Linked DNA regions of Homo sapiens: regions 2, 3, 4 and 5 are each linked to region 1. The links are contacts of gene promoters, found by promoter capture Hi-C in blood cells and fetal thymus (Javierre and others, 2016). All regions are on one chromosome and are shown on one strand. The core of a region is centred on a gene start or on the middle of the fragment in contact, and the rest is flanking DNA. Distances in the headings are between cores, read along the strand shown. Region 1 holds the start of SNRK (SNF related kinase). Region 2 overlaps ANO10 (anoctamin 10). Region 3 overlaps POMGNT2 (protein O-linked mannose N-acetylglucosaminyltransferase 2 (beta 1,4-)). Region 4 overlaps ANO10 (anoctamin 10). Region 5 overlaps ANO10 (anoctamin 10).

Region 1 (5,547 bases), core at 2,101-4,600:
GAGTCTGAAGTAACTTTTGAGTAGCCACATGGCAGCAGACTAGGGGGCATAATAGCAAAAGGAAAGGGAAAGAGGCCTGATTTGCCATGGAACAGCCTACCTGAGCAGAGGCCAAATGCTGGGGATGCCAAAGCAGACTCTCAGGAGGCTCTGGAAGTGACAGCAGAGAAATAAATGTTCAGGGAGGGCAAAGCAGGAATCCTCTTTAGACAGGTTCCTTCCCTACCACCAGCAAGAAATGGTTTCCCATGAGACACAGAGCCACAACCCAAAGCAGATGTGCAGAAAAGCAGATGAGGATCAATGACGTAGCTCTGGATTATCCAGAGCAGACAACACAGTTCCAGTGCTCACTCGTGAGGCCATTAAATCTGAGGAATTTTATACCAGCTCTTCCCAAAGTTAAAACAAAACAAAACAAACACCTCACCAAAATCCTTCTCCTCCATCCCCCAAAGCAACTGCCCCATTTCCCTCCTTCCTTTTCAAATGCTTTAAGGAAAGAACAGTTGCATTGTCTCAGCCTTCTCAACTCCCTTTCACCCACTTGGATCTATGTTCTTCTCCCACCCACCACTTGACCTTGTCTTCTCACCCTCCCTGAACCCCCTGAGCCTTTTCCCTTTTTCTCTGCCTGGGAATTCTTCCTATTCTTCAAGACCAGTTTAACCATCACCTCCTCTGTGAAGCATTTCCATGTCAGGTTGTTCACTGCCGCCATCCTTGTGCTTCTGCAGGTTTTTCCCTATGCCTCACCACAGTTCATCTGTTCGTACTGTTACTGTTTACCTTGGTGTTCCCCAGTAGCTTCTAAGAACCTACAGTCAGGAACTGGTTTTTATTCACTTTTCTACTGCTGCCCTCCCTCTACCCTAGGGCCACCAAAAGAGACACACAAACATTCCATGAATAAATGATCAAAGGTTAAGTTTATCTTCAGAACTGCTAGGATCCACTCAATTTTTCCACCTAAGTTGTTCTAAGTTTACCTGCACATAGATACACACTGGGAAATACCTAAATTCTGAATAACAGTTTTCTTACTAAAGCATCTTAGTTATAAACACTCTATCTTTAAGCAAACAGCTGGGATGCAGTTACATTAAGTCTAGAGTTTCTCATCTACGGTTTTTAATTCCTAAGATTCTGGCCTATGGAAAGTTCATTTGTACCCTTTTCTTCTTGGGCAGTGTAAAGAGCTCTTAGGATTAGACAAGCTGCTACAGGGAAGAAATCATGTCTTATTTATACCAGTACTTAGAACCATGGCTGCTCAGTATCTCCAGAAATAAATATTTTTCTATTTGGTTTCACTTTCTGTATGAGGGAAGTACTCACAGTGAAGTTCAGATGAACAGTATTTCCTGTGACCAGTAAAAATATCACGAAAGCCCTTCAATTTTAATAAGGACATTTAAAAGCCTTTCTTTTAGGATTATGTGATTAAATCTAAACCATAAAGACCCAACCTATACTTCTGGTCTAGAAAAATAAAATTAGTACAACTTCTGAGTTCTAGCATGTTTTAGACTAATGGATCTTACTGCAGTAAAACAGAAAAAAATACTCAGAATTATTAAAAAATACGGTGAGAGTAATTTTTGTGCACAAAATGAACAATTAAAAACTGATTATACAAATTTAAAAAAAAATTGAAAGGTGGCACTGAAAGTTTCCTGCCTGAAAAGCCTTCAGGATGAGAGTATTATAAAAAGTTAGCACTGTGCACCTGACTTTCTACACTGCTTCAATATGTGACCTTGGAAATGTCATGTAATTTCTCTCATTTCTAGTTCTGTAAAATGGGAATGTCCACCTGTTCTCCTCTCAAGGACAATTACACAGATAATCAGATTAAAAATTTGGTATTTGGTGTTCTTTAAAAAAAGAAACTTGTCTAATTAGTATGCTTTAATCATCACTTGTACAGTACATTCCTCTTCAAGAATCCAATTCCAAGAGAAATATTTAAGCAGACGTTGAGGACAGATTTCCTTAAGGGAATTATTTTATAAATCTGGAAAGCAATGTAACGAGATTATAAATTAACAAACTGATTACATAAGCCTTGACAACCCGGGCTTTAAAGTACACTGCTGTATATATTCTGATAAGTTAAAGACTGGTTTGGGACATAGTGCTCCAATCCCATACAAGGAGCCCAAACTCAGGCATTTCATGTTTGATAGGAACTTGGTGGAGATTCAACAGGATGTCCAACACTTGCAAGCCATGCTTCACCTTAAAACCTGACAAAATGTTTAAGGCATTAAGTCAACTTTACCACGGTTCCTAAGACTTTAAGAATGCACATAATTAAAGGGAAGGGGGGTGGAAAGTAACATGACAGTTTGAAAGGTCCCATATCCTCAGACCTCTATAGATTTAGGAACTCCACTGCTAAATTCTCCCCAAAGCCTGAAACTCCCTATGAAACTACTGGACTGTATGCGATCCAACAGTTACAAATAGCACAGCTCCAAGAACCCCGAAGATAAAAGGCTGCCACTTTCCTGCAACCCAAGTCCAAGTAAAAGGCAGGAAGGTCCCTGTAAAATGGACCAGAAAGAAATCAACAGGCGATGACTATGGAAAAGAACGTAGATTTCCCAGTCTCCCAGTCTGCAAAAATTCTAGCTCTCCCTCGGGAATGGCACTGCTCCTCTTTCCTTACCCCTTTGCCCTTTCTCTACAGACAACATCCCCACTCTATTGTAAAGCAGTTTGACCACGGAACCCTTTTGCTGAGGCCGGATTTCTACAGTCTTCTGAAAGGGGAAAACGCATTCAAAGAACACACACCCTACCAAGCGCCCAGGGCGCGGGGCCCCGCGGGCGCCGCACTCGGCCCGCTCCGGGGCGGGGCGCGGGGATGCGGGCGCCTTCCGAGGTGCCGCAATCCCGCCGCGGCCGCAAGGGCAGGGCCTCCAGGCGACCGCGGCCGCCGCCGCAGTGACGGCTCCCGCCGGGCCCCGCCGCCGCCCCGCCGCCAGGCCGCGCCGCGGGGTCCGGGCCACCGCAGCCCGGGCCCCGCGTCCTCCCGGGCCGCGCGCTGCGGCCGGCGCCGAGAGCGCAACTTACTTTCCGCCTGCGGCGAGCGCCCCGGCCCGGGCGCCCAGCCCGGCAACAGCGGAGGCTACTGAGGCGGCGGAGGCCGGCCCCGCACCCCTGCCTACGGCCGCCGCGCCCCGCCGCGCTCCGCGCTCGCCCCTACCTCAGCCGGCAGGCGAGCGTCCGTCCGCAGCGGCCGCGGCGCCGACAACTCCCTCCCGGCCGCCGAAACCCCGCACCCAGCGCTAATCATAATACCGAGCGGGCTGCCGGCCGCGGGGAGGGGGTGCCGGGTAGCTGCGCCTGCGCGGGCTGCGCGTCACTGTGACGTCAGCGCTGGGGCGGGGCCGCGGGAAGGGCAGGGCGGGGCGGCGCGCACCTGCGGCCGGCGCGCGGGCTGCTGGAGGGCATCCTGGCGGCTTTCTGACCCCGGCGAGTCGGGGCTGAGGCGGCTGGCGGGACAAAGCGGGCAAGGCGCCCAAGGAGGATGGAGGACGGGGGAGGAGGAAGCACCAGGGACACGGAACAATGGCCGGGAAAAAGTAGCGCGAGCTGTCAGGGGAAATCGGAGGGAAGGGACCGCGTCTGTACAGGACTGCGTCTTGGCGGCAGGGGGCAGGGAGCCGCACGCGCTTTACTCTTTGGTTCCCGCCCAGGTTTAAACAAGGATAAAAAAATTGTAAAAATACATATACATACACACATGCACATATGTATATACATATATATACATAATATGATTTTTTTCTCTGTAGTTTCTTCTCCCTGGGACTCTAATTTGAAAAAATTCGGTTGATTTTGTTGTTATTTAAGCAAAATTGGAAAAGCCCAACATCTGAATGCAGTGCTGGCCTTAAAGGTCAGCGGGAGACACAGGCCCTGCTAGGCAGCCTCTGGCAACAGCATAGAAAAGTAAACGGTCGTGGGGACACATCAAAGCACGTGAAGTCAGAGATTCAAAACACGCCGGGCATTAACCATAGCCCTTGATGGTTCAGTGGTATGGTCGCCAGGCCAGGTTGCTCTGGAAGGGAGCTTAGGGATGGCCGCAGAGGGTGGGAGGGGACTCCCGACTCCCACCCCTGGAAGCATGGCATGCAATAGAGACCAGCTCTTCAGGGTTCCTGGAAGGGAACACCAACAAACCAGACGCCAGATTTCTTCAACCTGCTTTTCCCCTTCTGTTCCCACGTTGTGTCCACCCTTCCCCAAGAAAGGACCCCTAGCAAGGAAGGACACAAGCCAGAAGAGCTGCGGAGATGCTGCAGGCTTGGTTGAATTGACTGGACTGCGAAGAGAAATCTAGATGGTTTTAGCAAATCTCTGTTGACCTGCAAATGTCAAAAGCCTTTTAGCTTCTATGCATCAACTTTGCATGTCTGAAGATGATTGGGAAGCAGGAGTGGATTGTTGGGAGGTGCAAACAGTTTGATTCTTAGGGTAATAACATAGGGTTTTCTGATCAAGGGGACTCCCAGTTACCCTAATACCCTTGCATCAGGTGGTGGGAGAGCACCAGGGAAAGCCTCAGATTAGGCCTCTGCGCCTTAGGGTCCCACCTGGGATCACTCTGACCTGAAAAGACCATAAAAGAGTCATCTCATTTTGACATGGAAATCGTAACTGTAGCAGCATATTAAGCAAGAGCTCCTAACTTGGATTTGTAGAATTTGTCCTTTTGTTGCTAGAAATCAGGAAGACCATGCACTTTTCTCCTCAGGGAGATATCACTATTCAGGGAACTCTGTAGCCAACTAAAGGGAGAAAATACCACTGTAATGGTCTCCCAAGGGATTTCCAGTGGTCGAAGGCCTCCACCCCTGGGTCTGTAGTCCCTGAGTTATATCAGTAACTACAGAACAATGACGATAATATATAAGCTCTTGAAAAATAAAGTATTTATATTGCTGCTGTTTAACTAGGTTTTGAATAAATTTTCTAAGGAAAACAAGGCATAAAAGAGCAAAACAAATGAAAAAGGGCAAAATAATAAATTGATTTAAATGAAGTTGGCTGCAATACTCTTCTAGAGAAGGACGCAGTACTGGCCACATGGTAAATCATTTATTCATCCCCAGTATTTCTTGGGTAGCTGAAGTGCTGCTGGCAAGAATATGACCCAGTTTTGGTTCCACACCATAAATGTGGTGACATGATTTGATTATGCTTCGGCAATATTTTAAGATATTCAAGTACAAATTAATAGTATTACTTAAGTTGGAATTTAAGCAAATGTGCTTATAGTTAATGAAGAAACTCCTTTTCCACTCTGCCCTGGGGCTTTCTCCAACACACTGCTTTTTTAATGTTGGGTCTTTTTATGGACCTGTAAGAAGCTTTAATTAGATGTACAGCATTCTACAAAACGACAAGATGAAGCATGCTTGCTTGTATTACAGTCTCTGTGATTCAGATCTCAAAAATAACATAATGCCACCAGTTTAAGGAAGATGTTGTTTATTGGAAGGAAACCAGGGAGGTGCCACAAATTAGATC
Region 2 (5,547 bases), core at 1,006-3,505, 240 kb before region 1:
CCAAATGGTATAGATGCTGTGGGCCATGAACCCCACTTTGAGTGGCAAAAGATTTCTCAAGAAGAGTTCTCAAGTTCTTGAACATAAGTTCCATATTAGGTTCTATAACATGTATACTTGAAGGACAGCTTGGCTGGATTTTAAAATACTTTGGTTCAAAAGGTTCAAAGTTCTTGAAATTTCTTGAAAATGCCCCTCCACTGTTGTCTTGCATTGTTGCTGTCAAACTCTGATGTGAATCTGCTTTCCTTCCTTTAGCAAGTGACTTGGTCATTTTGTTTGGAGGACCAAGTGTTTAATATTAGTGTAATTATTTTATAGGCATATGTCTTAGAGTTGATTGGTTCAGATCACAGATACACATGGGCCCTTTCAAATGTGGTTTCAGGCTTTCTTTTGTTTCTGGAACATTTTCTTAAATTACAGGGTTTTTTTGTTTGTTTATGTGGGTTTTTTTTGAGACAGGATCTCACTCTGTTGCCCAGGCTGGAGTACAGTGATGCAGTCCAGCTCACTGCAACCTCCACCTTCAGGGCTGAAGCAGTCCTCCCATCTCAGCCTCCTGAGTAGCTGGGACTAACAGGCACACACCACCATGCTCAGCTGATTTTTGTATTTTTTGTAGAGATGGGGTTTTGCCATGTTGCCCAGGCTGGTAAGTTACAGTTTTTAATATTGTGTTCTGCTGTTTTTTTCTTCTGAGTCTCCAGCTATATGTTGGATCTTCTTTGCCTGTCTTCCTTGTCATTTTTTTCATTTTGACACATATTTTTCTTTTATTTTTGTCCTCTTAGTTTTTCAAGCTTTTCTTCAGTGTCCCTTATTATATTTTCATTTGGGTAGTTTCCCCCTTGCCATTTTGTAATTTATCACTATTTCTAAGATGATTTTGTTCTCTTCTTCCTTTTCTTTACTGAATTTAGCCACTTTCATTTCATATCTTCCATTTTGTTCATTTGTTAGATATTTTTGATCTGAGTTTTTGTACTTCTTATCTGAAGTTTTTTTTCATGTTCTTAAATGCTTATTTAAGGTTATTTAATTCAGGTTTGATTATTGAGTTATAACTTTCATCTGGTTATGTTTTGTTTGGTTTTTGTTTGCTTTCATGTTGTTGAGGAACAAAATCAAAAATGGAAATACTTTGATTCTCAATGTCTGTTTTATTTTCATAGTAACCTTGTACAGATGTTATCTGCTTTTTTTTTTCGTTTTTTTCATTTTGAAATTTTCCTAGACTAGCAATAGTAGCTCTTGTTGGAAAGAATAAGGAGTTTTTGGGTAGCTTACTGAGTTTTTTTAGTTTGAGAGCACTCTTTTCTGCTGGTATAGTAAAATGTTGTTTCTTTTAACGAGTATCTTCTTGGTAGTGAGAGGTGTGAGTATTGTTCTTGTGTCTTTAGGACTGTTAATTTCTACCTTTTGCTTTCTTCTTTCCGATAATCTTCAGCCTCCAGGAGATACCTGAGCCTTCCGTAAATCTTTCCTCCCCATCCTTCCCTCAAAATGGTGCCTTCCTAAAACTACCACATCTGATTCTGTGCATTTTCAAGCACTATCCTTTTGATTCTCTAGAAACTCTCTGATCTAGCAGTTCACAGACCTTTTCTTAGTGAAAATTTCTTTTTCTGGGGGTGATTTTATCTGTGTTCCAATATCGCTAGATCTCTATTTCCCTCTCTTTCATAGTGTCTGACTTGACTTGCCACTTAGGTGTGGGCTTTGGAGCTAGTCTTGCTGGATTTGGATGTTTATTTCCCTATTTTCATGTAACACGAAGTTCATGCCATTGCTTATCTCCTAGTTAATGTTGTAGGTATGAGGAATGGTTAGTTTGTCTTCTCTTCCTATTGATCTGTTTGTTTTTGGTTTTGAGTATATATGGAGAGATTTGGATTTAGACGGCTCCATTGTCCTATGAGAACCCAGAACTCTGTAATAATGTTATTATATCTAGAAAAAATTGAATTCATTTTGGTGTGTTCAGGCAATTTAAATATATTTATATATGAACTAAAGAGTACTTCATCTTCTGTTTAGTGTGCAGCATATTTTATTTTATATTATTTGAATTATCATACTTATTTTGATTTATACCTAGTTCATTACAAAATCTATTCTTGTTAACATAATGGTAAACCTCTAATATGTCATCTGTAAGGAGCATGCTGGATATGTTGTAATAGTTTAATTGGATAAGGGGCATTTTGAAATAGAATTAGTATAAATATACAAACAGCCATTGGACACAATGTGAAAATCTTTCCCAGAAATCAGTTTACACAGATGAGTCCATAAATCTATGATTTAAATCTTGTGTAACTTTGCCCCAAGCCACTAAATAGAAGCATGCTGTGTGTGTGTGTGTGTGTGTGTGTGTTTTACATCCATTGTATGTACCATATATATATATGTACCATTGTATGTACCATATGTGTGTGTGTATATATATGTATACACACACATATGTATGTGTGTATTTTATAAATATATACTGTTTTTCATTATTGTTGAGGTCAACCAGTAGACTAGAGATTATTTTAGACCCTAAGAGAACTTAAGGGACCTCTGCTGTTACTGATTAAAGTAGGGCTAAAATAAGAATATAGATGCTATATTCTATATTATTTATAGGCTATCTTAAGTAAATATTCAAAATATTTTAAGGAATTGCTTGTTAAGGTGTAGCATAGATACAGATACTGGTTATGAATGTTAGGCTGAATGAAGTGTCAAGAAGTGAACATATTCATAAGACATAGGACGTTTTACCAGAAGCCCCTTCATGCTCTTCCTAGTCACCACCAACCCAAAATAACCACTTTCCTGACATCAATTGCCATTTAGTTTTGCCTCTTTAAATTCTGTATATGTTATACTATACATTCTCTTGATATATTTTCAATCGTCTCAGGATGTTGAAATTGTTTCCCAACTCTGGTGCTCTTTTAGCAGTTGTTTCCCTGGTCAGTTAATCCTCTGTGTTGCCGTGTGGGCATGCATGCTGACGCTTCTCCGTGGCTGGCAGAGAGCCACAAGACTCCACAGAGGCCCTGTTTCTAGTGTTACAAAAATAATCATACATGTTGCATATCTAAATCCAGTGAGGAACTTGTCAAAATGATGGTTGATTAGAGAGATTAATAAAATATAAAGATATTTAAAGATTTGGTGGCTGCACAGGACAATTAACATGTTGCTAATTCTGAAAGTGAATCTAAAATGGGAAAGGTAATTTTACAGTCCATATGTTAGTCATGTCCCTGACTAAAGAAGTAAGTTGGCAGCCTTTTTAAGGTTTCATCATTTTCATCATTCAAGTGCTTTTATTTCTCTAAGTGTACTGCATTTAATGACTTTTTTACTTAATACTTTCTAAGTATATTATGTGAATATGCTAGAATATATTAAATGTTGTCATTTGAAGATAGAATAATGACTCTGTTGCAAAACAACTAAATAAATCCAAAGTGGAGCGATGTTGTTGGTACACTACAGTGGCAGCAGACCCTTGGATTTAGAAGGAATGATTTCCAGAAAATCTGAGGTTTGAAGTGACCAACTGTCATTAGATTTCTCATAAATTGAGGCATTTTGATATTGAAAACAGAAGGAGGAAAACTCACAATGGAGAGGAACAAATTTGAAAACTGGGCCACCGCTCTTTGAAAATGCATCAGCTCCCTTCACCACCACTTGCAAGCTTATTTTAGGAACTTAGAAAGAGGAAAGAAGAGAGACAAAACATCTTTCCCTGCCTAATAACTCTATCCCATTTACATTACTTCTTCCCACTAATTATGGTGAAAGTACTTTGTGGTGATGAGAAGGGAAGTTCACTGGCCTCTGACCATGGGGTTAACTGTGCCTCGTGGGGGTGCTCACTTAGCAGATACTTGGGTGCTCACACCTTGTGCTAAGGCTGAGCAGAAGCAGGAATGGTTGTTGGCACTGGAGCTTTATCTAGCATGAACACAAAGCACCAGATAGTCATGCAGATAGATGTAAAAGGATTGAGTTTAGAGTAGGGGAACATGACCTTGTCCGGAGTCTGAAAGGTGTTTTTAAGGAGAAGTATCCAGTAAAATGGAGCCTGAAGTGAGAGATGGGGATGAGGGACTGTGGAGGGAATGCTTTGGGCAGAGAGGATAGCCTGCCCAGGGACCATGGAGTCCCAGAGCTATGAAGATGCAGGAAAGAATGTGAGGTGAGGCTAGAGAGGACACAGAGGCCAGATGACCTGGCTGCACAGGCCACATTGAGGATACCTTTTTCTCACTTAAGAGCCCTGGGCAGTCATTGGTCGGTGGGGGGTAAGAGTATGGCTGTGGTGATGACCTCAACACATTTGCAGTTTGTAAAACCAAAACAACCCTTGTCTTGCTCAACTTGGAGGATGGTTCTCACTCATACCCAGCATGGAGAATGTTTAAGAGGGGTTGGAAGAGTCAGTGAGTTAGGTGGTAACTGCAGTGGTTCTAGGGAAGGATCCTGGTAGATTGGAACAGGACAGGCAGTGACTCTTCTGGAGAGGCATGTACTGGAAGCAGTATTCAGAGTTCTTGGTGCTGTGTTGGATACACTGTGTGTTAGGGGAGAGGAAATATCATGAGTGACTGTAGGTTTCTGGCTTGGGTACTGGAGGAGGGCCAGTTATTGAGATAAAGGATGCTGGAAGAGATCTGTGTTTTGGCAGAAGAGCCCAGATGTGTTCATTGTCCCGCTGAGTCTAAGGTACCTGTGAAACAGGCAAGAGGAGCCCAGTGGGCAGTTGGGTGGACTAGAAACCCAGTTCAGTGAATCATCTGCATCAGTAAATCCATGTTCCCTTTCCTTCCCCCTTTCTCACCTGCCCCAACTGTGCAACACATAATCATTGCACAGGGTACTTGGGGAGGGAAGGAAGCATCTTGAGGAAACCTTCCTGGTCTCTAGGGCCAGGCCAGATTACTGCTGTGGGGTGGACTGTAAATGCAGGAACTGTTGCAGGCATGCTGCAATTACCACTTATAGACAGCTCTCAGGATCTACATGGGAAAGGTAGGGTAGGGGGAGTTAAAAGGAATTGAGTTGGAAACTTGACAAAACTGTTGCCTAAAATTTTCTTTGAATATTTCCCCCAACCAAGCACAATGCTTGTTTGAAGCAAATGACTCAGTTATTCTAGAAAGTCATTCCTTCTATGAGGGATTCGTTTCCTGGTTTTCTTCCTACCTCTTTGGCTATTCCTCCTTAAGCCTGTTCCTGAGCTTCTTCCTGGGCTATTCTTTCTTAAGGTTCCTTCCCAATCCTCTTCTTCTTCATTCAATCATTGGTTAAACTCATCTGCTCATCTCCGTGGCTTCCACTGTAGCCCCTGTGCTCATCTACTCCAGGTGTAGCCCCTAGGTGAGCTTATCTACCCCATGGCTTCCACTGTGGCCCCTGGGTGAGCTTGTTTACCCCATGACTTCCACCTCCACTGTAGCCCCTGGATGAGCTCATCTACTCCATGGCTTACACTCTAGTCTCTGGATGAGCTCATCTACTCCACAGCTTCCACTGTAG
Region 3 (5,547 bases), core at 1,889-4,388, 190 kb after region 1:
CTCAGCACAGTACCAGGGCACATGGGATAAATTATCACACTAGTATGTTACTTAGACTCTCCTTAGGGTGAGAGAATGGCCACAGCTCCCTAAGCCACCTGTCACAGCTGGGTACCCTCTGCCTGGCTGGGTGGGGAGGAATTACAGCAAGAAGCCTTGGGTTGCTAAGTTACAGTCCAGGGCCTGTGGTTCTACATTTCCAGGGCCACCACACCTGCTCTGCCCTTGACTAATAAAAACTCACTGCTCTACAGTCTACTCTGCTTATCTGCCATTGAGTGTTCCTCCAAGTCTGATGACAGATGAGCACGGTACTAAGAACAAGACCTTAGTGAGAGGCAGGTTCAAATCCTGGTGGCCCTTCTTGAGCTTTAAGACCTTAAGCAAGGTACTTAACTCCACTAAAACTTGGTTTTCTCATGTTAAAAGAAAATGGGGATAATATTGGTACTGCATTGGAGGGTGAGGCTTAAATGAAATAGGTCAGGAAAAAGGCTTAAGACAGCGCCTCTCGCATAGTAGGTGCTCAGTAAAGTAAGATGGTGAGACCATTCATCTTTATCCCCTACCCAGAGGCCAACATCCTTTTTTTCTTAGTTAACCTGGACAAGTCCTTTTGTTTTCTCTGGCTTCCCATGTCTGCACTGGTACATACTCCAGCACCTCTAAGAGAATCAGATCTTTCACTCTGCCAGTGGTGACTGCCATTGGTACAAGCTTATGCTACAAATTTATCTGTTTTCTCCATTCTGAAAAGGCTAAGAGAAGGCCCCTTCTTTGCTGTGTAGTTGCTCCTCAGCCCTGAGCTAAGCCTTAGGAAGGGACTGGGGACCTGGTCTGCTGTATTGCCACACCCAGTGATGAAACACACCCCGGGGTCCTTTGACAGTGGAGGTTTGTGGCAGGAATCATGGCACATCCTGGAGTGGCATCTGGAGTTGCCACAGTTGTGCTGGGTCCCAGAGCTTCCAAGAGAGTCACACAGTAGCCATTGTAAGGAACTGGAGATGCTGTCCAAATTTGCTCTGTTCAGGGGCTTCTTTCTCGGGGGACCTACCTCCTCTCTGCTGGCCTGCAGGGATGGCCATCTCCCTATGTCCTCTACTGGTGGCTGCTTTAGACCCAGACTCCATCCTTAGTCCATTTAGCTGTGGCCAAGAGACCTGGACTCGTTTCTTGCCACTCCCACACCACAAATGGTGCACTTTGTGTGGGAAGGAATGGGTTGGGGCAACTTGTCTCAAAAGGGAGCTTAGAGTCTGGCGGACTTCTCAGATTGTCCCAGAGCTTAGGCTTATGCATCATCTTAGCAAAAGGTAGGAACAGAATTTATTTAGCCTTTACTGATACTTATGGGGAGGGTTATTCTCAATTGAATTAGTTGTTTAACCTGGGCTAGATAGAAATGCCTTGCTGAGTATCGCAAAATTGTGAAATGTTAGAAGAACCTCAGAGCAGTTCCCCTCAGTATTGTGCACACGCAAGAATCACCTGGAAGCTTTATTAAGACACAAGTTCCTGGGTCCTCATCTCAGAGAGATTCTGGTTCTGCAGGTCTGAAGTGGGGCCCAGGATTCTGCATTTCTCAGATCCCAGGTGATACTGCTACAACAGGTCCACGGATCCACTGAGTCCTGCTTTGGAAGACACCATGGCCAGCCCTATCCCCGCTGTGGAGTAGTCCACATGGGTTGTTTTTGTTTTTTGCTAGACCACTTCCAGGCAGGGGCTCACTGCCCTACAAAGTAGCTGATTCCTCCATGCTCAAACAGCTCTAGTCTTTAGGAAAGTCTTCCTCCAACTGACCATGCTGAGCTCCACCTCCCCATGACTTCTTTTTGCAGTTCTTACTCTAGGTCCCTGAGCAGCTGGCACAGCTGTGCTGGGCAGGACAGAATGGGAATCATATGTGCCCATAGTCCACACTTGTGCCTAGGGCTTGGGTTGCACGTGTCACCATCATGCATGTGTGTCCAGTCAGGTAGAAGGGGTTGCATCCACTCCTCAGGAGCAGCCTCACTCTTGTGCAGCAACTCAGGTATTTGAAGACACCATGGGTGCAGGGGCTTCTTTTCTCCAGTAAAGTGGCCCTACTCCTTCTAGCATCCTACACAGTATAGGGGTTCTCAGTCCTTCCTCATCCTGGCTGCCCCAAGGTGAGTGTCCCAGAAAGACTCACATAGGGTGGGGTTGTATTAATGACTAATTGTACAGACTCTAATTCCTCACGAAAATGCATAACCTGAACCTAATCATGAGAAAACATCAGACATTGAGGAATATACTAGAAAATAGCTGGCCCTGACTCTTAAAAATTGTCAAGATCATAAGTTGAAGATAGACTGAGAAGCTACCCCAGATCGGAAGGGACTAGAGAGCGGTGATAACTGGATACCATGCTTCATCCTGGACTGGATTCTGGACCAGAAAATAGAAACCATATGTTAATAATAATATCATTGTCATTATAGTATCAATATTCATTTCGTTAATTTTTGTGGTGTGAGAGAATGTTTTCATTCTTAGAAAATACATGCTAAAGTATTGAGTGCTAAAGGGGCCTGATTTCTTCAACTTATTTACAAATGATTCAGAAAAGAGAGAGAATTTGTATACAGTTGCCCTCCTCAGGGAGACTTGTTCCGGGATCCCCCACAGATACCAGAATCCAAGGATGCTCAAGTGCCTGTTATAAAATGGTGTCATTATTTGCATATAACCTACACAATCCTCCTGTATACTTTAAGTCATCTCTAAATTCTTTATAATACCTAATACAATGTAAATGCTATGTAAATAGTTGTTATACTATATTGTTTTTAAATTGATACTTTTTTTGTATTTTTAAGTTTTTTTTGAATATTTTTGATCCACAGTTGGTTGAAGTCACATATGCAGAACCTGCAGATATAGAGGGCTGACTGCATATAGAGAGAATGATTAAACAAAGATGTCAAATTAGCAGTTGGTGAATCTGGGTAAGAGTGTAGGAGAGTTCTTTGTCCTATACATGCAACTTTTTTTGTAAATTTAAAATTATTTCCAGATAAAAAGAAGGAGATCGCAGACCCTGTAGCCAGCCTACCTGGGTTAGTCTTATCATTGCTTCCTCTGTAAACTTGGCTTTCTAACCTTTCTGAGCTTTGATTTTTACCATCTATAAAATAAAGATTATCATTGCAAAGTGAAGAATCTGGCACCTAGTGATTGGCCAGTAGATCTTAGCTATGATAATATCATTATTATTAGGAAAGGGAGGAGTTGAGGGTGACATGGTGGTAATGAGACCAAAGGAAAACTCAGCCTAATTCTGTCACCTCCTTCTGCTTGCTGATGTGGGATCTCAGGGTCCCTGGGTATCTGGCAGGGACCTGGCTGCCATAAAGCGTCACCCTGCAGAAGGCTTTGCAAGTAGTCACCTGAGCCCATAGGGCTCTACTGTTGAAACCCAGGTCTCCTGGCAGCTTTATCTCCTGCCTTCCCTGGCACTTCTGTGCCTGCCCCACAGCCTGGGCTCCCCGACCTTTACCTGTCTGGGTATGCAGTGCCCACTGAACTGCACATGGCTTTGGGCCTGGCCATCACTGCCCATGGCTTGGAGGCCTCATGGTTTGCTGGACATTTGTGAGAACTAGACAGTGATGCTTGCTGCAGACAGATTTGTAGCAGTCATGAGTAATTGGGACATGTAGACACATAACAGAGATGCTCATCTTATCCTCCATCACCACCAAAACACCTCCAAAAACTTGCTCAAAACTCACCCACCCTCCAGCCAGCTTCCCTGGATGATCTCTTGTTGTGCACACTTCCTCGTGTTTCTTTGTGAATGTTTTATGCTTCCTATACTGGGTGTTTTTGGCTCTCTTGATCAGTTCAACCCTCTCAAATTGGGCCTGAGGGTCCATCTGGATTTGTGTACACACTGGGGTCTGAGCATTCCCTGTAAGAATTGTTTTCATTTGATTTTGTAGTTCCACCTAGAAAACCTGGTGTAGGCGTGTTCTCCATTACCTTTGTGAGCCACACAACAGAGGTTCCCACCGTTCTGTTCCCTGTTTCATCCCCGTTTATGACCACACTGGTACACAGTGATGCCAGAGAGGACCAATACAGGCACATGTCACTTCCAGGTGACCCATTTGTGCTAAGCAAAAGCCAGATGACACGGCAGGCTGTGTGGCAAGCAAAGGTTTCTGCGTTATTTGGAGGCTGAAAACCGGTGAGAGGGTTGCATATGAGCTGGTGGAAGGCCGAACGTCCTGCCCCACACTCAAGCCTTGGTTTATCCTCAGCAAAGACTGACATCACCCTTCTCACCAAAGTAGTACAGACTTGAATTCTGTTGGAGTTTTTCCTGCTTTGAAGGGGTTCCTTTTCTATTGATAAGGCAATATAGTCACAGTCATCAGCTATTGATGGTGGATTAATGTCTCCAGCTTTGACTTTGCTTTGCTCTTTATTCTAAAGCAAGAAGATACTACCCATGTCAAAGTTTTAATCTAAGAAAGTGAGCCCTTAACTAAATGTTAAATATGCCTTGATAATTAAATGTGTTAAGTTTTACAAGAACCACTCAGACTGCCAAGATTTTGCCAAAGGATAAATACCTTGGTCAGAAAACCTGATCTATAAATGCCGAATTTATCAATAGCATTAGGTTAATATTTAATTTAGGAGCAAATGTAAGCATTATGTTATTAATACCAGTTCCATATACTACTTCAGATAACCAAAAAAAAAGGAGGGGGAAAGAGATCATTCTGAGGATAAGCTTGAGTTAGTGAAACATGTTTACTCCTTACTAATTTACAACATGTAAGACAACAAATCAATACAGGACTGAAAGCTTCCACAATCTAGCACTAGTACTTCAGGCTGCATTTAGGACAAAAACACTTTTCAGTGACAAAATAAGATTTCTATAATTTTCAATTGGAAGTGTGAACAATCCTTAAAAGTCAAATTGCTGTGAAAGTAAAATATAAAACCTTCTGCACCGTTGCTGACCCCCTCCTGGCCTGGGCCCTGCCTGATCTTCTGCAGCCTGGGTCTGGCAGGTGCTGGCTGTCTGGTCCCTCCACCTCTGTAACCCTTCTTGTGGAGGAGTGACCGGTGAGCTGCTGGTTCTGGCAGTCACAAAACTGGGAACCCGGGCACAGGCCATGGTGAGGCCAGCAGGACAGGGGATTTGCTTTAGACCAGAGCTTGCAAATGAGCATCCGTTTTTAACTGGCAACCATGAGGCCAGCAGCCCCAGGCCTTGGTGCACGTTGTCTTCACTCAATTTGAATAATTGCCAGAAGTTACAAATGAGGACATTTCACATTTTAAATAGATTTTTGCTTCTCTGGGAAAATCAGAAGAGTATTGCTATGGACTGAATCATGTTCCCCCCATTTATATGTTGAAGATCTAACCCCCCTGTGATTGTGTTTAGAGATAGATCATCCTAATAATGAAGCTTAAATGAGGTCATAAGGGTGGGGCCCTAATCTGATAGGACTGGTGTCCTTATAAGAAGAGGAAAAGAGATCAGAGTGTTTC
Region 4 (5,547 bases), core at 828-3,327, 170 kb before region 1:
GTGAGACCTCTGAAACCTTGTTTCATTGCCAGCAAGCCCTCCCTCACCCTTAGCCTCTTCACAGAAGACTATCTGTGGCCCTCTCTCTGATAATACCACCTTGTTTGTTACTTACTGAATTGGATGATGCTCAATTTGGTTATCCTCCATTTACTAGGGAAGTGCATCAGGTAGAAATGGAATCTGAGCACTGACTGGTCCTTTTCCTTCAACAACACCGAATCCTGGAGCAAGTTGTGGCTACCGAAAGAAGAGAACAAAAGATAAAAACAACTTAGTGGCAGGAGGTGGGGTGGTGGTGGTTGGACAGAAAGTGAGTCAGGAAAAAAAAATTGAGAAGTGCCACCCTATGATAGTGACACATGCAGCTAGCTATTGCTCTTAGAGCCCACCTAATGGCATTAAACAGTGCTGCCTTTCTCTTCTCATATATTTATGTTCCACCTGGTTACACATAACTCAAGGGGCTCAGAGACTTTGTTTTACTGTTGTAGAGACATTGATTTGGAAGCTCGTGGCGTATAAGAAATAGGTTTAATCATCATCCTCAGCAAACTAACACAGGAACAGAAAACCAAACACCACATATTCTCACTCATAAGTGGGAGCTGAACAATGAGAACACATGGACACAGGGAGGGGAATATCACACACCCGGGCCTGTCCAGGGGTAGGGGGAAAGGGGAGGGAGAGCGTTAGGACAAATCCCTAATGTATGCAGAGCTTAAAACCTAGATCACGAGTTGATAGGTGCAGCAAACCACCATGGCACATGTATACCTATATAACAAACCTGCACGTTCAGCACATGTATCCCAGAACTTAAAGTAAAAAAGAGAAAAAAGAAGTCGGTTTAAGCCTAATGGGAGATTGAAAGCTCTCTGCATTTCTTGTCTATGGTGTCTTCATTTGATGTTAATAGGAATTTGTAATGCATAAGAGAATTCCTGTAGAAATATTTCCTATGTAGAAATATTTTCAGAATATTTTATTGTTATGGTAAGTAAAAGGAGGATGTGGAGGAATTTGATGGAGCAAATCAAATTATTTCAGCTTAAATTTAAAAACTTTGCAGGGCAAGGTGGTCTTATTGCTAGAAACATCCTTCCAAGAAGGAAAAAACAGGTATCCTGGATTCTTTGTGAAACTTCTTCTTAGAACAGATTTTTATAAAGTGTGTCTGTCTTTAAGGAGATTCATCTGTGGGGTGCTATAAGGATCTTATTGCACAGTGGTCTCCATTGCAGGGGGTCTCTTGACTAGGACTCCGGGGTCAGCATTTATAACAAGCCTTCAGGGTTTTAATAATTTTTACAAATGACAAAGATTATATATAGCACAGTGGGGATATATTGTCATCTCCCCTTTTATAGGTTAACAAGCTAGGAACAAAATGAGAGTTCTGACTCCTTTTCCAATATGTGGTTGTCTACTGTCTTTGTTGCCTGGAGCTCAGTGTCACTCAATGAAAGGGAGACAAAGAAACTTAAGTGATTATTCCAAGATCCCACACAAACTCCTATAGGAATAGGAACAGGGTAGGGGGTGGGGGATGGGTTGGGGGCCTTGCATCTTGGTTGATCAGACTACAAGCTCCTCAAGCCCCAGGTACACCACTGCAGAACTCTCCATGTTGCACTGAGCATTTCAAGTGGCAGCTCCTCAGAACACATTAGTTAATTTGATTTCCACCTGGTACTGATCTCCTCCTTGCAGTTCATTTTATTTTAGAAAGTAATTTGTAGTTTAGAGATGGCAAGCAAAAAGCTTGTAATGAATTAGGAGTCTATAGGAAACATACATGTATTCTAAAGTAAAGCAGGTTTGGCTCTGTGTTCCCACCCAAATCTCATCTTGAATTGTAATTCCCACATATTGAGGGAGGGACCCGTGATCCCCACATGTTGAGGGAGGGAGGTGATTGAATCATGGGGGTGGTTTCCCCCATACTGTTCTCATGATAGTGAGTGAGTTCTCATGAGATCTGGTGGTTTTTATAAGTGTTTCAATAGTTCCTCTCTTGCTCCCTTCTCTCTCCTGCTGCCTTCTGAAAAAGGTGCTTGCTTCCTCTTCACCTTCTGCCACGATTGTAAGTTTCCTGAGGCCTCCCCAGCCATGCAGAACTGTGAGTCAGTTAAACCTCTTTCCTTTGTAAATTACCCAGTCTCAGGGAAGTTCTTCATAGCAGTGTGAAAATGGACTAATACAAGCATGTTTCTGCAGCAGGTTATTAACTGTCAGGGTTAACTTTGATATGTGTATTTAGCAATCTGCTAAGAGGCATTTTGTGTGCCAAGTTATTAACCACAGTGTCAAGTTCAATACCAAAGGAGTCTTTTTTATCTAGTTTCCTCCCTGACTTTATTTCAAAGCATAATCAAAGCTTTATTCTTCATTAGATTTAGTATTAGCTAATTTAGTTTTTGGCAATTTTTATTCTGGTTTCTGTTATATACCATTCATAAATTGAAATGATTGTGCCAAAACATGTTAAGTTTATAGAATGGTAATGTACTGTTGGGTGCATTGTCATGGCACATTATAGATGGCTCTGGAGCAAGATTTACAAGTAACAAATACAAGAAAGTTGTAAGTATGAAAAATCCGTACTTACTGTGTTTCACTCATAAGAACACTGCTATCCACTTTTCCCATGACCACTACCGCCTCAATTACACAAAATTAAAATGATCCTACTCTTTGCTTCATGTCGCAGACACCTTTGTAATTGTATTAATTCCTGCATCTGTGACCCTCCCTTTTGTAGGCACCAATGGTATATTTGATATATGTCCTTCCCTTCCACCTTTCACTTATTTAAATTATGGTGTTTGTGTGTGTTGTAATTAATGAGCATGGCTTTGGGCTCTGAATCTCTAATTCTTTTTCACTCAGTGTTTATGATATCTGTCTATGTGGCTATGTATGAATTTGGTTCATTGCTTCTGACTGCTACGTAGATATCCATCTTCTGAATACACCAAAGTTTTCTTATCCATTTTCCTACCGATGGACAACTCTTTGCTTCTAAAGCCAGAGCTACATAAGGATGCACAGCGTTGTGTTTGCTTCTTTGTGGATGTGTGCAAGAGCTTACCTCAGAGCACAGGTGAAGAAAATGCCCAGGTTTAGCAGATTTTTAGCACCTTTAAGGCAAAACTCAGTGCCATCAGTATAATATAGGACTTCTGGAGCTTTAAAATATATACATTTTGTATAAAAGGTGACACTCAAAAATGCAGCTGAGAGTATCATTAATTATACACTGCAGTGTCTGAAGATTCTATTTTTGTAGCGTCCTTTTCCTTTCCTCCTAATGACTGTGCAGGTGTTGGTGACCGCCGTACCTGCTCACCTGCTGAGCCCAGGTTCCCAGGGTGGGAGCCAGCCCAAGTTATTTGAGGAGTAGGCAAATGTAGCATGTCAATTTCTATTTAAAGAAATTATTTCATCACCTAGTAGGTGCTTAAATGTTTTTTAATGTTACTCTTTTTGCTTTTCTTTATCCCATCGTAAATTAGAGTTAACGCAAGTCTTTGCTCCTGTTGTTTATTGAACTTGCTGTAGAATAGCAGTGCTGGAATATGTTACTCTAACAAGTAAATACTGCGTCATGTACCACAGGATATTATAATTTATTTTTATATATCTTTATATATTCATCTTTGTGTCAGAATCTGTTGGAAAAAAAAAAGGTTTGTAACCAATGTTTGTTTGACTGATGGTGTTTGGAAAAATTTTAAGTGTAGTTTATTCAGAAACCCTGAGGAAAAGATCACACATGCAGCCCAGCCCAGTGAAGTTTTGAGAGGGGTTCTTAGGGTGGTGAAAGGAGAAATAATCAACCAGTCAGAACAATTAAATTAGCTGGCCCCAGAAAGGATCTGTGAGATGGAAGACTGCCCTCCTATCCTGCTAACTAGTTGATTTACAGTACCTAGCCTGGCTTACCCCAGGTCATTTCCCCCCATTCCTCAAGGACTTAAGGGCCTGACTCACCCCCTCTCTCTGCAGAACCTCTCTAATACACGTACCTGTCACTCCTTCCACATCCATGGCTGCTGACATCCTTGACCTCTCCTCCACTGACCTGTCTTCCTTCTGATCTCAGCCTCCCACCTCCACAGTCATACCTCTGACTCATGGCCTGCCTCACTTTAGATTCCTAATCACTGACCTCAAATAGCCCTCAATGCTGCTTGGCATGCATGTGTATTTCCATGGTCATTCTCTCTCCTGCCCTTCCACATGACTGTTTCATGCCTTCTCCTCCCTCAGTCCTCCAGTGCCTCCTTCCCTCCCTTGCTCTTGGCTCATGACCTTGCTTCCTACCTCACTGAGAAAATGGGCGCACTACATGAAAACTCCCGCCAGCTACACCACTTGCATGCATTTGTGCCCATGTATTTGACTTTTTCTCCTGTCACTGCAGATGGCCCACATCTGCGCCCCATGAGGGACACCTCCACACTCAGGGGCTGGATTCTATTCTCTCACATGTCTCCAGCACAGGCTCCAGGAGACTCCCTCACTCTCACTTGCATTGTCTTTTTCCCTTTCTATAGGATCATCCTCATCGGTGCATAAACATGCTGTTATTTCTTCTACCCTGGCCTTACATTTCCCTCTAATTACTGCCTCATTTGTCTTTAAACAAAACTTGTGTAAATTGTTCATGCTTACTGTCTCCAGTTCTTCTTCTTTCATATTATTTTGAACCATTAGTCCACCAAGACACCACTTCTGAAGGTCTCTGGTGATCAGCACCTTGCTAATGCCATGGTCCTTTCTCAGGCCTCACCTTACCTGACTCCTCTCTCCTGGAAACACTGTTTTCATTTGATTTTCAGGTCCCTACATCACTTGCTTTTCCTCCTGCCTTTCTGACCACTCTTCTTTAGTATCTCTTCCTCCTTCCCTCCCTCCATGTCTCCTCCCCTCCATTTCTCTCTTCCTCTCTCCCTTTTTTTGTGTGTGTTTTGTTGTGTGTGCTTCTTGCCCACTCTCTCTGATGGCCAGACAGTCTTGGGCTCTGTTCTTGGGCCACCCTTCTGCTTTTGTCTGGTCTCAACACAGCAGCCACAGTGGTTTTGTTAATAACCTTACACATCACTTCTCCATCCAGAAACCTCCAGCAGGTTCCCATCTGATTTAAAATAAAAGTCAATGTCCTCACTATGACTTTTGAAACCCTATAGAATCAGGCCCATGATTATCTCTCTGCCCTTATCATCAACTCCTCTCAACGTTCTTGCAATCCATTCCAGACACACAGGCCTTCCTCTGTGTTCCTTGAACAGCCAGGCTACTGCCTCAGGGCCTTTACATTTGCCTTTCCCCTGACCCAACATGCTTTTCCCCCAGAAGAAAGCCTGCCCAGCTTCCTTCCTTCAGGTCTTTATTGAGAGTCACCTTCCCCTGGCTATCCTGTCTACATTTTAGTCCTACTACCAAAACTTCCTCTTCTTTGTTTCATAAACTATGTATGTTACTTATGAATAGTTTAATTATATGTCTTCTCTAAAAAGGTAAGCTCCAGCTGTGCTT
Region 5 (5,547 bases), core at 946-3,445, 150 kb before region 1:
TTGGAAATATCACAGTAAGAAATTCATTTAATTTTTTTCAACTGTCCTTTTTCTGTCAATAATTCAATGCAACATTTCTTAAAGGCTGTTCCATCTCTCTCATTGATTTTCTTAATGCCTTTTAATTATTTCTTTTAAAATTCACAACTTTTAATATTTAGTAACTCATGCTGTCACCACAGAGGCAGCTTTATCCTTTGATCACTTAGATTTCTGTGGGTGTTGATTCTGGATCACAAGATGATCTGGATTCGGAGAAGTATCAGTAGGTTGAGCCTATACATCTGAACAGCGGGATTACCAAGGGAAGCAATACCATTGGCTTAATTATACATCTCATATCATTATGTTATAGAGGACTTCTTTATGATGCTTGTGTGAGAAGGAAAAATAATAGCCAGGTTTTAAGTTTTCCATATTATAATGTCTGTGTACTTACCATATATGGAGTCAGCAGCATAAAGTTACAATCATTGAATTAATCTTTATTTATTATCACATCATAAAAGAAAATGCACCAAATGCTATGGGATTAGAGGATTCATGACACCTTATTTTTAAGATACATGTACGTTTCATGTAACTCAAACTGAAGTGCAGCACAGGGACATTGGGCAGAGAGTGGAGTGACAACAAATATTGTATACTAAGATGCGTTTCTAGAAAAGAGTTTGTGGAAGACTTCAGAATAAGCCATTTTTCTATAAAACATTGAGGGTACCCTTACGGTATCAGTTTACAGGAATACCTGGTTTTAAAAAGAATAAAGTTGGCTGGGTGTGGTCGCTCAACACCTGTAATCCCGGCACTTTGGGAGGCCAAGGTGGGTGGATCACCTGAGGTCAGGAGTTTGAGACCAGTCTGACCAACATGGTGAAACCCCCGTCTCTACTAAAAAATACAAAAAAAATTAGTTAGGTGTGATGGTGCACTCGGGAGGCTGAGGCAGGAGAATCACTTGAAACTGGGAGGCAGAGGTTACAGTGAGCCAAGATCGTGCCACTGCACTCCTCTAGCCTGGGCAACAGAATGAAACTCGGTCTCAAAAAAAAAAAAAAAAAAAAAAAAAAAAAAGAATTAAGCAAAGTCAGTAATTACTGAATGTACCACAACAGGGTGGACTCACTCAGTACAACTCATGGGCCTGCTTGGTCTTTGATACTTCACAGGCCAATACTTAGAAATTACCCAAGATTAATATAAATAATCCTAGATTGCTTAGATATCAATTTATTTCCTTGCATATATGGTCTGATGTATCACATCAACATGTACTCTTTCTTGTTTTCAGCACGCACTCCTGGCTTTAAAGTTTATACTTGCATTTGCCATACCTGATAAGCCACGGCATATCCAGATGAAACTAGCCAGACTGGAATTTGAGTCTTTGGAGGCACTCAAGCAGCAGGTGAGAGCAGCTGTCCTGAAAATGTATGTATTGCTTTAGCAAATGACAGGAAAAATAATTCAGAAGAATCAGTCTCAGCATTTTTTTCAGCCTTGAAGTTACCAGTTTAAATGAATACAGAGGACTCCAGTTCAGGATGACATAACAAAACCAAAATCCTAACAATATGAGCAACAAATAGGTTTAAATAACTAAACTAAAGAAACAAAAATATTCAGGCAATGTTAAATAAAGAATAGAGCTAGCATTCAGCAAAAGAACAAGACAGACATCTAAGAATCAACCTGGGGCAGCTCCCCACAGCTTCCAGTTTTGCCATCTACTGAAACATTAAGTGAGGAGAAGTGAATGAATAAAATCCTGAATAATAGCTTTCAGAGAGCGAGACAGAATGAGATCAGGTGTGTAGAAGCAGCAAAATTGCCCTGAAAGGAGAAACTGTGCCTCAGTGACTTCCACATTCTACCAGAGACTACAAAAAAAAAAAAAAAAAGCCATGCTGGAGTTGACCATTTTGGTGATTTTCTGCTTGTAGGAGAGTGGGAGTAGACAGAAGATCCCTAGACACCTGGAGTATCTCTCACTTGTTATCTTTAGTGCTGCATAGGAATTTAAGAAATGAGAGAATCAGTAAGGCATTGCCATCTGAGGGGACAAGCTCTGGGCAGAACCTCCTGGACACATACTCCTTCTTTGGCCTCCAAACCACTATGCATAGAAATATTTCTTCTTACATTTGGGGAGTGGGGAGAAAAAAAGAACGTGAAGAGGACCCACCTAAGATGACCCTTTGATCAAAGCCTGAGGGCTCCAAGGGTAGTGCGCCGGACAGGAGAACCCCACATCAAACCAATACTTGCCCTGATGAGGCAGGGTGACTCCAGAAGAGGACTTGTGATAAGAATGTGGAAAAGAGGATGAACCCAGGCCCACTAGCCATAGCTGTGCTCATGTTTGCCACACAGTAGGTGACAAGACTAAGTTACCTGCATTCCTAGAGGTTGGGCAAGTTCACTTTTGGCATGTGGGCTAGCCAGTGTGTCTATATGGTAAACCGGAACCCAGCATCATGCCCAATAATGAAACTCCAGAGCATTCCCAGCAATGGCAGAAAATCCATCATCATCACTGACAGCTAGCATTCTTCTAGAGGTACTAACCAAAGCAGTTGTATAAGAGGAAGAGATAAGTTCAAGTAGAAGAGGCAAGATTATCATTACTTGAAAATCAGAGGATTAGGCTGGGTGCAGTGGCTCACACCTGTAATCCCAGCACTTTGGGAGGCTGAGGTGGGTAGATCCCTTGAGCCCAGGAGTTTAAGACCAACCTGGGCAACGTGGTGAAATCCCGTCTCTACAAAAAATACAAAAATTAGCCAGGCATGGTGGTGCACGCTTGTAGTAACAGCTACTTGGGAGGCTGAGCTGGGAGAATTGCTTGAGCCTAGAAGGTCAAGGCTGTAATGAGCCATGATCATGCCACTGCACTCCCGCCTGGGTAACAGAGTGAGACCTTGTCTCAAAAAAAAAAAAAGAAAAGAAAATTAGAGGATTATATAGCTAAAAATAAATTATTAAAAATAAAAAAATTTGGTAAGGAAGCAAGTTACAAAGTTTATCTAAAATCGTGTTTCTTTTCACAAGAAATAATCAGTTTGAAAATATTTTTGATGAAAAATTCACATTTACAGAAGAAACCAAAATGTAAAAACTTAGGTGGTAATTTATGGAAACAATATAGATAACTTATAGAACAATTTTTTTTAAACTTTACTGGGATCAAAAGATTCAATCTTGTAAATATCCAATACCAATTCAAATATATCAAAATAAACATCTGAGAATAGCAAGGAAACTTCTGATAAAGAAGAAAAATGGGGACTCTCACTCTTGTCAGATATTAAAATGTATTCTGAATAGTACAATAATTATAATTAAATACATTTTAAATTAGGGAAGAAATGGAAAAATCAGTGGAATAGAGAGCATTGAGTCCATAAATGGGCCCAAATAAAACTGGGGATTTCATTTATGGTAAAAGTGATATTTTATGTCAATGGAAAAAAGAAGGATTATTTGTTACACAGTTTGATGGCAAACAGCTGTTTGGGAAAATTATTATACTTTATTTTAACTCATTCCTTATGAACCTCCCCACCACCACAAAATTCAAGGTTGACAGATTTAAATGTAAAAAATGTAAACCATAAGAAGTCTATTAAAAGTCTGGGTGTATCTTTTAGTGGGAAATGCCTTCCTAATCAAGACACAAAACCCAAAAATCATTAAAAAAAAAAAGATAAAGTAAAATACATGAAAAATGAAAACTTCTGTATGACAAAAAATAAGCAAACTCAAAAGATAAATTGGACAAACTGGAAAAATATTTTCATATATAACAAAGTCAATATCTTTAATTCAAAAAATAATTTCCACAAATCTATAAAAAATGACAGTCCAGTAATGAAAGGAAAGCATATGAAGAGATGCTCAACCTCATTCAAAATGAAAGAAATATAAATTTAAACACCAGTGAAATACCACATTTCGCATGTTCTATTGGATTATGTCATGATAGCCTGTCCTCACTGGATTTGGGAAATGGACATTCTTTTATATATAACTGACAGAAGTGTAAATTGGTTCAGTCTTCCTCGAATTGCAGTTGAATTTAATTTCAATTACTCTCCAACACCAAACAAACCTTACTAGGGTAATGGTTGTATCTGAAAAGAGTACCAAAATTTAGTCATTGAAACATTTTTATTAGCAAAAATCTGGAGATAACTAAATTCCTCAATAGGAGAATGGTTAAGTAAATTATTGTATATCTATACAATAAAATTCCAGTAACCTGCTTTTTTAAAAAAGATCTGTCTATGCTTATGCATGCACATACACACTGCCTACATTTTTGCAGCTATTGAATTTATGACTAAAAGATTTTAGGTGTCAGTTTAAAAATGCGTGAGAGGGCATAAAGCATCTAAAAACTTTATGAGGTATGTAAGAAAAAAAGCTGAATGTACAGCCTTGTCTCTGGAAGAGTTTTAGTTAATCAGATTTCTCCATTGATTGCATTTCTGGTGACATTTTGTAGATGGGGGCAGGCAACTTCCTGGCTGGTGCATACATATCTTAACTCCAGGTCTAGGAAGAATCATGCTTCATGTTACTCAGGATTTCGTGGTATATCTATACAGTAAATTTTATGGTCTGTATATACCATAAAATTCCATGAATTTGCTTTTTTAAAAAAGATATTTTGAAAAAATCACTCAGGATTTCATGTTACTACTTGTTTGTCTAAAAAGGAAAGGATTCTTCTTGAGAGAATGAAATTATACCTCATTCCCTATGAACCTCCCTCACCACCACCAAATTCAACATATTATTAGTATGTCTCATGTTACTAAATACATTTACCTAAAACTCCAAATGCAGGAGTGTTATATTTGCCATTGAGGGTGTCATGGATATGTGTTTACTATGGATATGGCTAAATGACCTCTCAAGTCATCTTAGCTCTTAGATTCCCATATCTTCAGGTACACTTTACCTGACAGTGAGGCAAAGCTCTAATTCCAAATTTATTTATGCTCATCTTCTTTGAGAAATGAAACACTGACCAAAATCCTCTCTCATACAAGTTGAGTATCCTTTATCCAAAGTGCTTAGGACCAGAAGTGTTTTAGATTTTGGATTTTTTTTTTCAGATTTTTGAATAGTTGCATTGTATTTACTGCTGAGCCTTCCTAATGGGAAAATCTGAAATCTGAAATGCTTCAATGACTTTTTTTTTTTTTTTTTTTTTTGCATTCACAAAGTTTCAGGATTTTGGGGTATTTCAGATTTTCAGATTAGGGATGCTCAACCTGTATTACTTAAAAAGAAGAAGAAAAATCTAAAATATGTTATGTCTCTTTGAGATTTTTTTCCCCTGAGGACATAGATCTGATTCTCTGGTTAAAACCACCTTGTAAGAAAAGGTGATTCTGAAGGGACAGATGTCTAACAGGTTCCATTCAGTATACTTATTGAATGCTTTCTAATAGAACGTTCATAGCTTGCCCTGAAGGTGATTTTTAAATTTGTACATGTGCAGCTCTAATGTCTCTGATCCATCAAGTGGGCAGACAG

What was found. Contacts are between HindIII fragments. The CHiCAGO score rates a contact against its expected background, and 5 or more counts as called.
Region 2: a fragment that was not itself captured here is called in contact with the fragment with the promoter of SNRK in region 1 in 1 of 17 cell types (neutrophils); the score reaches 6.1 in neutrophils.
Region 3: a contact is called between a fragment that was not itself captured here and the fragment with the promoter of SNRK in region 1, in 1 of 17 cell types (fetal thymus). The highest score is 5.4, in fetal thymus.
Region 4: a fragment that was not itself captured here is called in contact with the fragment with the promoter of SNRK in region 1 in 1 of 17 cell types (total CD8 T cells); the score reaches 6.3 in total CD8 T cells.
Region 5: a fragment that was not itself captured here is called in contact with the fragment with the promoter of SNRK in region 1 in 3 of 17 cell types (neutrophils, naive CD8 T cells and total CD4 T cells); the score reaches 6.2 in neutrophils.

What each region holds. Positions count from the first base shown.
Region 1 is chr3:43,284,343-43,289,889 of GRCh38, reverse strand. SNRK (SNF related kinase) reads right to left here and starts at 3,350. Exons shown (of 7, transcript NM_017719.5): 1 at 3,215-3,350. RefSeq lists silencers at 177-404, 2,816-2,865, 3,106-3,505 and an enhancer at 3,110-3,610. The HindIII fragment of the contact is 7,817 bases long and covers 1-5,389 here.
Region 2 is chr3:43,523,870-43,529,416 of GRCh38, reverse strand. All of the region lies in intron 11 of ANO10 (anoctamin 10), which reads left to right. Among named protein-coding and RNA genes, the nearest start is that of ANO10, 95 kb to the left of the region's middle. The HindIII fragment of the contact is 2,900 bases long and covers 806-3,705 here.
Region 3 is chr3:43,097,553-43,103,099 of GRCh38, reverse strand. The region is part of intron 1 of POMGNT2 (protein O-linked mannose N-acetylglucosaminyltransferase 2 (beta 1,4-)); the gene reads left to right. Among named protein-coding and RNA genes, the nearest start is that of POMGNT2, 5.8 kb to the left of the region's middle. RefSeq lists enhancers at 4,623-5,123, 5,124-5,547. The HindIII fragment of the contact is 3,276 bases long and covers 1,501-4,776 here.
Region 4 is chr3:43,453,941-43,459,487 of GRCh38, reverse strand. The region is part of intron 11 of ANO10 (anoctamin 10); the gene reads left to right. Among named protein-coding and RNA genes, the nearest start is that of SNRK-AS1, 100 kb to the right of the region's middle. RefSeq lists enhancers at 4,037-4,331, 3,206-4,405. The HindIII fragment of the contact is 616 bases long and covers 1,770-2,385 here.
Region 5 is chr3:43,428,472-43,434,018 of GRCh38, reverse strand. It overlaps ANO10 (anoctamin 10), which reads left to right. Exons shown (of 13, transcript NM_018075.5): 12 at 1,292-1,408. Among named protein-coding and RNA genes, the nearest start is that of SNRK-AS1, 79 kb to the right of the region's middle. The HindIII fragment of the contact is 8,533 bases long and covers 1-5,547 here.